3 separate regions of the Homo sapiens genome follow, and all the other regions are linked to region 3. The links are contacts of gene promoters, found by promoter capture Hi-C in blood cells and fetal thymus (Javierre and others, 2016). All regions are on one chromosome and are shown on one strand. Each heading gives the region's core, a stretch centred on a gene start or on the middle of the fragment in contact. The rest is flanking DNA. Distances are from core to core; before and after follow the strand shown. Region 1 overlaps CASC3 (CASC3 exon junction complex subunit). Region 2 overlaps PSMD3 (proteasome 26S subunit, non-ATPase 3). Region 3 holds the start of MED24 (mediator complex subunit 24).

What was found. The method cuts DNA at HindIII sites, captures the fragments that hold promoters and counts their contacts. A CHiCAGO score of 5 or more calls a contact.
Region 1: a contact is called between a fragment that was not itself captured here and the fragment with the promoter of MED24 in region 3, in 16 of 17 cell types (total CD8 T cells, activated CD4 T cells, total CD4 T cells and 13 more). The highest score is 10.7, in total CD8 T cells.
Region 2: a fragment that was not itself captured here is called in contact with the fragment with the promoter of MED24 in region 3 in 1 of 17 cell types (erythroblasts); the score reaches 5.6 in erythroblasts.

The regions. Positions count from the first base shown.
Region 1 is chr17:40,158,718-40,161,557 of GRCh38, reverse strand. All of the region lies in intron 3 of CASC3 (CASC3 exon junction complex subunit), which reads right to left. Among named protein-coding and RNA genes, the nearest start is that of MIR6866, 1.8 kb to the left of the region's middle. The HindIII fragment of the contact is 7,918 bases long and covers 1-2,840 here.
Region 2 is chr17:39,984,652-39,987,526 of GRCh38, reverse strand. It overlaps PSMD3 (proteasome 26S subunit, non-ATPase 3), which reads right to left. Exons shown (of 12, transcript NM_002809.4): 3 at 815-952. LOC124904000 (a long non-coding RNA gene) reads left to right here. Exons shown (of 3, transcript XR_007065751.1): 3 at 745-829. Among named protein-coding and RNA genes, the nearest start is that of PSMD3, 5.3 kb to the right of the region's middle. The HindIII fragment of the contact is 2,333 bases long and covers 379-2,711 here.
Region 3 is chr17:40,053,082-40,056,161 of GRCh38, reverse strand. It overlaps MED24 (mediator complex subunit 24), which reads left to right and starts at 1,754. Exons shown (of 26, transcript NM_014815.4): 1 at 1,754-1,801; 2 at 2,527-2,693; 3 at 2,782-2,864. The coding sequence starts at 2,564. RefSeq lists an enhancer at 1,495-1,554. The HindIII fragment of the contact is 3,100 bases long and covers 1-2,871 here.

The DNA of each region.
Region 1 (2,840 bases), core at 317-2,816, 110 kb before region 3:
ATAGGCGCCCACTACCGCGCCTGGCTAATTTTTGTATGTTTAGTAGAGACCAGGTTTCACCATGTTGGCCAGGCTGGTCTTGAACTCCTGATTTCGTGATCTGCCTGCCTTGGCCGCCCAAAGTGCTGGGTTTATAGGCGTGAGCCACCGTGCCTGGCTGCATTTCAATTTTCTACTCTTTAGGAATACATTTATCAATAAATTTTTAGTACAACATAGAACTGAAAAGCAAACAAATCAATATTCTTACCCATATTTCTAGAAAATAAAGATCCTATTTTGGCCTGGCACAGTGGCTCACGCCTGTAATCACATTTTGGGAGGCCAATGCAGGCAGATCACCTGCGGTCAGGAGTGTGAGACCAACCTGGCCAGCATGGCAAAACCCCATCTCTACTAGAAATATAAGAATTAGCCGCACTTGGTGGTAGGCACCTGTAATCCCAGCTGCTCGGGAGGCTGAGGCAGGAAAATCGTTTGAACCAGGGAGGCAGAGCTTGCAGTGAGCAGAGACTGCGCCACTGCACTTCAGCCTGGGCGACAGAGCAAGGCTCTGTCGCAAAAAATAGTAATAATAAAAAAAAGACACTATTTTAAAAATATCACATTAAAAAAAATACACACATACATACATATATATCCACATAGGTATTCCTGGAACATATGCAAGAATTATTAAAAGTGGCAGGCTGGGCGCAGTGGCTTACACCTGTAATCCCAGCACTTTGGGAGGCCGAGGCAGGCGTATCACTTGAGGTCAGGAGTTCGAGACCAGCCTGGCCAACATGGTGAAACTCTGTCTCTACTAAAAATACAAAAATTAGCCGGGAGGCGGAGGTTGCAGTGAGCCAAGTTTGTGCCACTGCACTCCAGCCTGGGTGACAAAAGCAAAACTCCATCTCGAAAAAGCAAAACAAAAAAACAAAAAAACAGCGGCAGCCTCTAATGGGCCCAGAGGATAAGAATGGAAGGGAGACTTACTATACGATACCTAACATATAAGAGGAGCTTAATCTTCCTTGATAATCTCTCTCTCCATGAATTATCTTTTTTTTTTTTTCTGTTTTGAGACAGGGTCTTGCTCTGTTGCCCAGGAGTGCAGTGGCACAATCATGGCTTACTGCAATCTCAATCTCCTGGGCTCAAGTGATCCTCCCACCTCAGCCTCCCAAGTAGCTGCGACTACAGGCACATGCCACCACACCTGGCTGATTTTTTTTTATTTTTAGTAGAGACGAGGTCTCGCTATGTTGCCTAGGCAGTTCTCAAACTGCTGAGCTCAAGCAATCCTCCTCCCTTGGCCTCCCAAAGGGCTGGGATTACAGGCATGAACACTGTACCTGGCCCATGAATTGTCTCTTAAACATGCAGTGCCTAATAACTATACTTTGACGTAAGTTGTGAACTCTCCCATCTCAAAATGGCTTAGAGCAGAAATTCCCAACCTTTTTGATTATGCGGACCCCTTTTTAGGATCTAAAAATTTTCATGGATCCCCATGAGATATTCACTGAGAAAACATACAATGACAAACAACTGCTAGGCTGGATGTAGTGGTTCACGCCTGTAATCCCAACACTCTGGGAGGCCGAGGTAGGTGGATCACTTGAGGTCCGGAGTTTGAGACCAGCCTGGCCAACATGGTGAAACCCTGTCTCTACTAAAAATACAAAAATCAGCCAGACATGGTGGCATGAATTTGTAATCCCAGCTATTTGGGAGGCTGAGGCAAGAGAATTGCTTAAACCCAGGAGGTGGAGGTTGCAGTGAGCCAAGATTGCACCACTGATACTAGTCTGGGCAAAAGAGTGAGACCCTGTCAAAAAAAAAAAAAAAAAAAAAAAAATTCGCCAGGAATGGTGGTGTGCGCCTATAGTCCCAGCAACTTGGGAGGCTGAGGTGTGAGATCATTTCAGCCCAGGAGGTAGAGGTTGCAGTGAGCCATAATTGTGCCACTGCGCTCCAGTCTTAGCAACAGAGAGAGATCCTGTCTCAAAAAAAAAAAAAAAAAAACACACAATGAACTGATGCGTGCGTGCCTGTAGTCCCAGCTACTCAGGAGGCTGAGGCGGGAGAATCACTTTAACCTGGGAGGCAGAGGTTGCAGTGAACCGAGATCGCACCACTGCACTCCAACCTGGACAACAGAGACTGTCTCAAAAACAAACAAAAAACAACAAACTGTTATACATTCAATAACACTTTAAGTTTACATTTTATTAATTTACATATATTCAAAAATAGTAGTACATAAGGGGGGAGATGTATATTTTAGTCTATAGATAATGAGAACTGAATGAGTAGACATGCAACTCTTTTTTGAGACAGGGTCTCACTCTGTCGCCCAGGCTGGAGTGCAGTGGTGTGATCTCAACTGACTATAGCCTTGACTTCCTGGGCTCAAGTAATCCTCCCACCTCAGCCCCCACAAGTAGCTGGGACTACAGATGTACACCACTATGCCCAACTAATTTTTGTATTTTTTGTAGAGACAGAGTTTCACCACATTACCCAGGCTGGTCTGAAACTTCTGAGCTCAAGCGAACCTCCTGCCTCAGCCTCCCAAAGTGCTAGGATTACAGGCATGAGCCACTGCGCCCAACCAGATGTGCAAACTCTTGATAATGACTCCATGATTTCCCAATGCACTTATCCTCAAGCTGGAAAATGGTAGCTTTTTTTAATGCCTATGAGTACTGGTTTTCTGCAGCAGAAAATTCCTGCAGCCAGAACATATCCAGAATCACATAATTACAAAAATTTGACCTAAAAAACCTTAAAGGACAACTTGTACAACCATCACATTTCAGAAATGAAAAAAATTAGTCCAAGTGCTCTCT
Region 2 (2,875 bases), core at 296-2,795, 68 kb after region 3:
AAAAATGCAAAGATTAGCTGGGCGTGGTGGCACATGCCTGTAGTCCCAGCTACCCAAGAAGCTGAGGTGGAAGGATCACTTAAGCCGGGGAGGTCAAGTGAACTGTGATCACACCACTGCCCTCCAGCATGGGCAACAAAGCAAGACCCAATCTCAAAAAAACCCCCAACCAAACAACAACCAAAAATAGTGTGGTAAGGAAAGGAAACAAACCAGGGAATTAAGGAGTGCGACTTACTTCCTGAGTGTGCTCCTGTGACAGTGGCTATGATGAACAAAGAAGCTGGCCCTAGCTGGGGGAGTGGTAGAAGTGCAGTTTGCAAATGGAGCTATTAGTCCATAATAACAGCTACCATTTATGAAAATATCACGAAAGCTTACTATATGCAGATCATTGCGCTAAGTATTTCTAAACAAATTATTTTATGTAACGCTAACCATCTTGTAAGGTAGGCACTATTATCCCCATCTTACATATAGCTGGGAGAAATTAATTTGCCTAGGGTATGGCTGGGATTGGAACCCAGGTCTTTCTGTCTCCAAATGCCCCTACTTTTCCCCAAGAATGTACTACGCTGGTATCCCCCACAGACCGGTACAGCATGACCACTGCAAGCCCTGTCCCACAGTGCCCAGAGCAAGAGTGGGTTCTCCTGGGATGTGGGATCAAACGCATACCTCTATGGGGAAAGAGTGTGGGGGACAGTTCTTAAGAATCAATGATTATTTCCATTTCTTCACCAGGGACCATCTCCCCGCCAAACCCCTTGCATCACTTGGGGCTTATGAATCGCTCTCACTGCATCCTGGATACCTCTTTGTAGCGCTTGCTGTTCATCATGAAGATGACCACGAGGAGTTGGAGATAGGCTTCCACTTCAGGCAGGAGGGGTGTCGACGCAGCTTTTCCCGTGCGGGGACGGAACTGTAAATCAGCCTCTGTGTCCATGGGCTAGGAGAGGACAGAAGTTACCATGGAAAAGCTCAGTCTGATCAAGTAACCAAGAATTTATTGAGCATCCACTATGTATTTCAACATATTTATTGAGTGTCTACCATGTGCCAAGATTTTGTTAGGTGCTAGGGATAAAAAAATAAAGATTACAGTCTTTCCCAAAGAAATCAAGGAGGAGCTGGGTGTGGTGGCTCACGCCGGTAGTGCCAGCTACCTGGAAGGCTGAGGCAGGAGAATGCTTGAGGCCAGGAATTTGAGACCAGTCTGGGCAACACAGTGAGACCCCATCTCTCAAAAAATAAAAAAGAACTAGCCAGGCATGGTGGCATGCACCTGTATTCCCAGCTACTCAGGAGGCTGAGGCAGGAGGACTGCTTGATACCAGGAGTCTGAGCCTGCACTGGGCCATAAGTGTGCCACCGTGCTTCAGCCTGGGTGACAGAGCAAGACCCCATCTCAAAAAAACAAAACAAGTCAAGGAGGCTGGCAATATAATATTAATAAACACAATAAAGTGTTACAGGAGAACAAAAAATTTCTTTACACAACATAATGGAGACAAAGGACGATGTAAGGAACCTTCAAAGAGGCTACAACCTAAGTGGAGACATTAAACCACCACACCTGGATCCACTGCAAATACTACTGGACAGGGCTGAACGAAATAATTCTAGAGATGAAATCAGAATAATGAGACCAAAAAATGGTTTCTTGTGGGAACAAAGAAAATTTAGGGAAAGTCAACATATAAACAAAACATATTTTCCTATGTTGTCACTGACACTGGAAAAAATAATGTGTTACAGTCACCCCCAAAATAATCACGTTTCGTGAGTTTAGCGATGTGAAGGTCAGAAAATATTCAAGGTGGAGTTGGGGGAACAGTACGCTTTTCCCCTTTCCCAGACAAGAAACTCTTCACTGCCCTGCCTCCAGGGATGTTCTGAGTTTCCCCATCCACGGAGCTGACTGAGTATACAGGATTTTAAGGAAATGCAGGTGCTGGAAGGTCAGTGGAATTGGAGAAGGCTGAGACCTGGCCCATGCCATGAATCATGAGGGAGAGTTTACAGCTACAGAGGATAAGGAGAGGTCTCTCCTGGCACGGAGGCGCCACCACCACCACCAAACTGACTTCGTCTGCATTCACTACGTACCAGGCACTGCTCTAGGAGCTTTATACTGCCCGCTTCCCAATCCGTTCATCACGTTTAACAAATGAAGAAAACGAGGCACAGCAAAATGAAGTCACTCGCCCAAGTCCCACAGGTACTAACTGTCAGGGTTTGGATTCAAATTCAACTCTACCTCTAAAATCTGTGGGGTTTTTTTTGTTTTGTTTTGAGGTAGGGGGGTCACCCTGTCACCTAGGCTAGAGTGCAGTGGTGCAATCTTGGTTCACTGCAATCTCCACCTCCTGCATTCAAGTGATCCTCCTGCCTCAGCCTCCCGAGTAGCTGGGACTACAGGCAGGTGCCACCATGCCTGGCTAATTTTTGTACTTTTTGCAGAGACAGGGTCTCACCATGTCGCCCAGGCTGGTCTCAAACTCCTGGGCGGGCAGATTGTTTGAATCCAGGCTGGACTCAAACGATCTGCTCGCCTCAGCCTCCCAAAGTGCTGGGATGACGATGTTAGCCACTGTGCCCGCCTCAGCCTCCCAAAGTGCTGGGAAGACAGGTGTGAGCCACTGTGCCTGGCCCTGACAGCTGTGCTCCTCCTAACCACTGTTCTCTACCTCCTCCATGGTGAAGCTTCAGAAGAAAGAGGCAGCAGCACCTTCTCTCTCCTAGAACAACAGAGAGGTCACCCAACGCAACCTCAACTGGAGTAGGGGGTACAGGTTGCAGGGTAGTGGGAAATGAGTTTGGCTGGGAGGGTCCTGATCCCCTGACTTTGAAGAATGACACTACAGGGCAG
Region 3 (3,080 bases), core at 505-3,004:
CCCAGGGCGCTGTAATTCTCTGCCCAAATGGCCACAGTTTTGCTTCCAGAGCCTTAAGTGGGCTGCTCTCCCAGATTTATCCTCCCGAGGACTGATTTTGCCACTCAAAGGGTGAGCAAAGAATGGTTGTTGGAGGCTAGGCACGGTGGCTCATGCCTACAGTCCTAGCACTCTGGGAGGCCAAGGTGGGTGGCTGAGGTCAGGATTTTGAGACCACCCTGGCCGACATGGCGAAACCCTGTCTCTACTAAAAATACAAAAATTAGTCGGATGTGGTGGCACACGCCTGTAATCCCAGCTACTTGGGAGGCTGAGGCAGGAGAATTGCTTAAACCTGGGAGGCAGAGGTTGCAGTGAGCTGAGACTGCGCCATTGCACTCCAGCCTGGGCAACAGAGCAAGCCTCCATCTCAAAAAAAAAAAAAAAAAGAATCTTTGTTGAGGAATACAGATTGAGCTTGAACTTGTGAACTAGGATATTGGGCCCTGGCTAAAGGCCTCCATGTTTATTTATTTATGTATTTTGGTAGAGCTGAGAGTCTCATTATGTTGCCCAGGCTGGATTTGAACTCCCGAGCTCAAGTGATCCTCCTTTCTCAGCCTCCCGAGTAATTTACTCTTATTCCTGGTTGTAAATGTTAGGGATGACCAGTCCATAGCATGGGGAGGGATGAGGGCTATGCATAAGAAGGCTCAGACATTGGAGCCTCCAGAGGTGGGTAACATTTGCTTTCGGGTTTCTCACTGGGGGAAGGAAAGGCTATGGCCAAAGCCCTGGGCATAATTTATATATGGATCTTTGGGATAAGCAAGATTTAAACAACAACAACAACAACAACAACAAGAAACTTAAAAAAACAAGTTTTTAATTTACAGGAAAAAAATGGAAGGTAATAGAGGGTCCCCACATATTCTGCACCCAATTTCTCTTTTTATTAACATCTTAGCATTAGTATTATGCATTTGTAACAACTAATGAACTAATATTGATACATTATTATTAATTAAAGTCCACCCTTTATTTAGATTTCCTTAGTTTTTACCCAGTATTCTTTTTCTCTTCCATGATCGCATTCAGAAAACCACATTACATTTAGTCATCAGGTCTCCTTAGCCCTCTTAGTTGTGACAGTTTCTCAGAATTCCTTTGATTTTGATCACCTTCACCTTAGTTTCCTCTTTACTTTCCCTTGTATCCAAGCTGTATGGAGGGCCTGGAGATTCTGATAGGACTGTAAGATTCGGGGACGGTGATATGTGTGCAACTAAGGCACCTCGGTGTCGCTTTTAGAATATAGTTGTGGAAATGAGAATAGCTCTGGTAGCTCCAGGGGCTTAGGAGAACAGAAAGAGCCCAGGAAAGGAGAAAGACCTTATTGCTGAACGCCACACCCTTGCCCCCACGCCACACCCTTGCCGCACCTACTAACTAGGGGCTAACGAATGAAAGGGTGTCGGAATATGATGGAGAAGCCCGGTCGACAGTGACGTCGTGGGCGACGCCGGGTTGTGAGCGGCCTTTCGAGCTCCCTCGAGTCCCTGAGTCTCTGTAGTGCCTCAGCTCCTGGATGTCCTCCCTTAAAGGAGAAGAACAATGCGGGCCGACTAGACGAGTCCCTTAGTTTCCTCGCCGGCGCAGACAAATACGGTTTCAGTCCAAGGAACTACCATTCCCAGAAGACAGCGGGGCGTTCCTTGCTGCATTTCTATTGGTTGGCGTTTGTTACTCCCAGCCAATAGAAAGTGAGCTTCTTGACAAGTGCCAAAATGGCGATGCCTACCACCTAGAACTGGATTGTGCGGTAGGCTTAAATTTGGGGAGGTGGTGGATGAAAAGGAAATTGGGAGGTATAGTTACAGGGCTGGAGAAGGTGGAGGAAATGAGGGAGCAAATCTGGACTTGGAATGGTGGTGGCCAAGGGACGCTTTTAGAGCTAAGGGCGTAATTAGGCAACCAGGACTGCCTTAACTCCTTGATGCCCTGTTTAATCTATTAGTCCCTTTGATACTTCTTTATTCATTTATTTGAGAGACGGAGTTTTGCTCTTGTTGCCCAGGCTGGAGTGCAATGGTGCGATCTCGGCTCACCCCAACAACCTCCGCCTCCCGGGTTCAAGCGATTCTACTGCCTCAGCCTCCCGAGTAGCTGGGATTACAGGCATGCACCACCAAGCCCGGCTAATTTTGTATTTTTAGTGGAGACGAGGTTTCTCCATGTTGGTCAGGCTAGTCTCGAACTCCTGACCTCCGGTGATTCGCCCGCCTCTGCCTCCCGAAGTGCTGGGATTACAGGTGCGAGCCACTGCGCTCGGCCGATACTTTCTTAGTGCCCCAGTTTAAGGAAGGGCGGTTCAGGAGGAGAGAGTCTGACAGGATCTTACTTTATCCCTTTAGCTCTTTTTCTTTCAAATTCCTCTGTCTCGCTTAAATCTTCCCGCATCTTCTCCTTTCTATTTAATTCTGCCTTCCCCGGTTCTCCTTAGAACCTCATGTCCTTTTCTTTAGCTCCATTTCTTTCACCTCAAAGCTGGCCGCCACCGCTGCCACCTGCTCAGAGTGAAATAATGAAGGTGGTCAACCTGAAGCAAGCCATTTTGCAAGCCTGGAAGGAGCGCTGGAGTGACTACCAATGGGCAATCAACATGAAGAAATTCTTTCCTAAAGGAGCCACCTGGGATATTCTCAACCTGGCAGGTCTCAAGTGAACTGGGAAAGAAAGATGGGAGGGATAAACCCAGAGAAGTTGTAATCACTCAGTTGTGTTTTGCTATTCCTCTTGCAGATGCGTTACTAGAGCAGGCCATGATTGGACCATCCCCCAATCCTCTCATCTTGTCCTACCTGAAGTATGCCATTAGTTCCCAGGTAAGCTTCCCGCAAACCCCCACCAAGAAGTGAGAGTTCTGGGGGTAAAAAACTTGGAGTGCATTTGGGCCCCGGTGGTTCATGGCTGTAATCCCAGCATTGTGGGAGGCTGAGGCAGGCGGATTGCTTGAGCCCAGGAGTTCAAGACCAGCCTGCGTAACATGGCAAAACCCAGTCTCTACCCAAAAATACAAAGAGTTACCCCTGCGTGGTGGT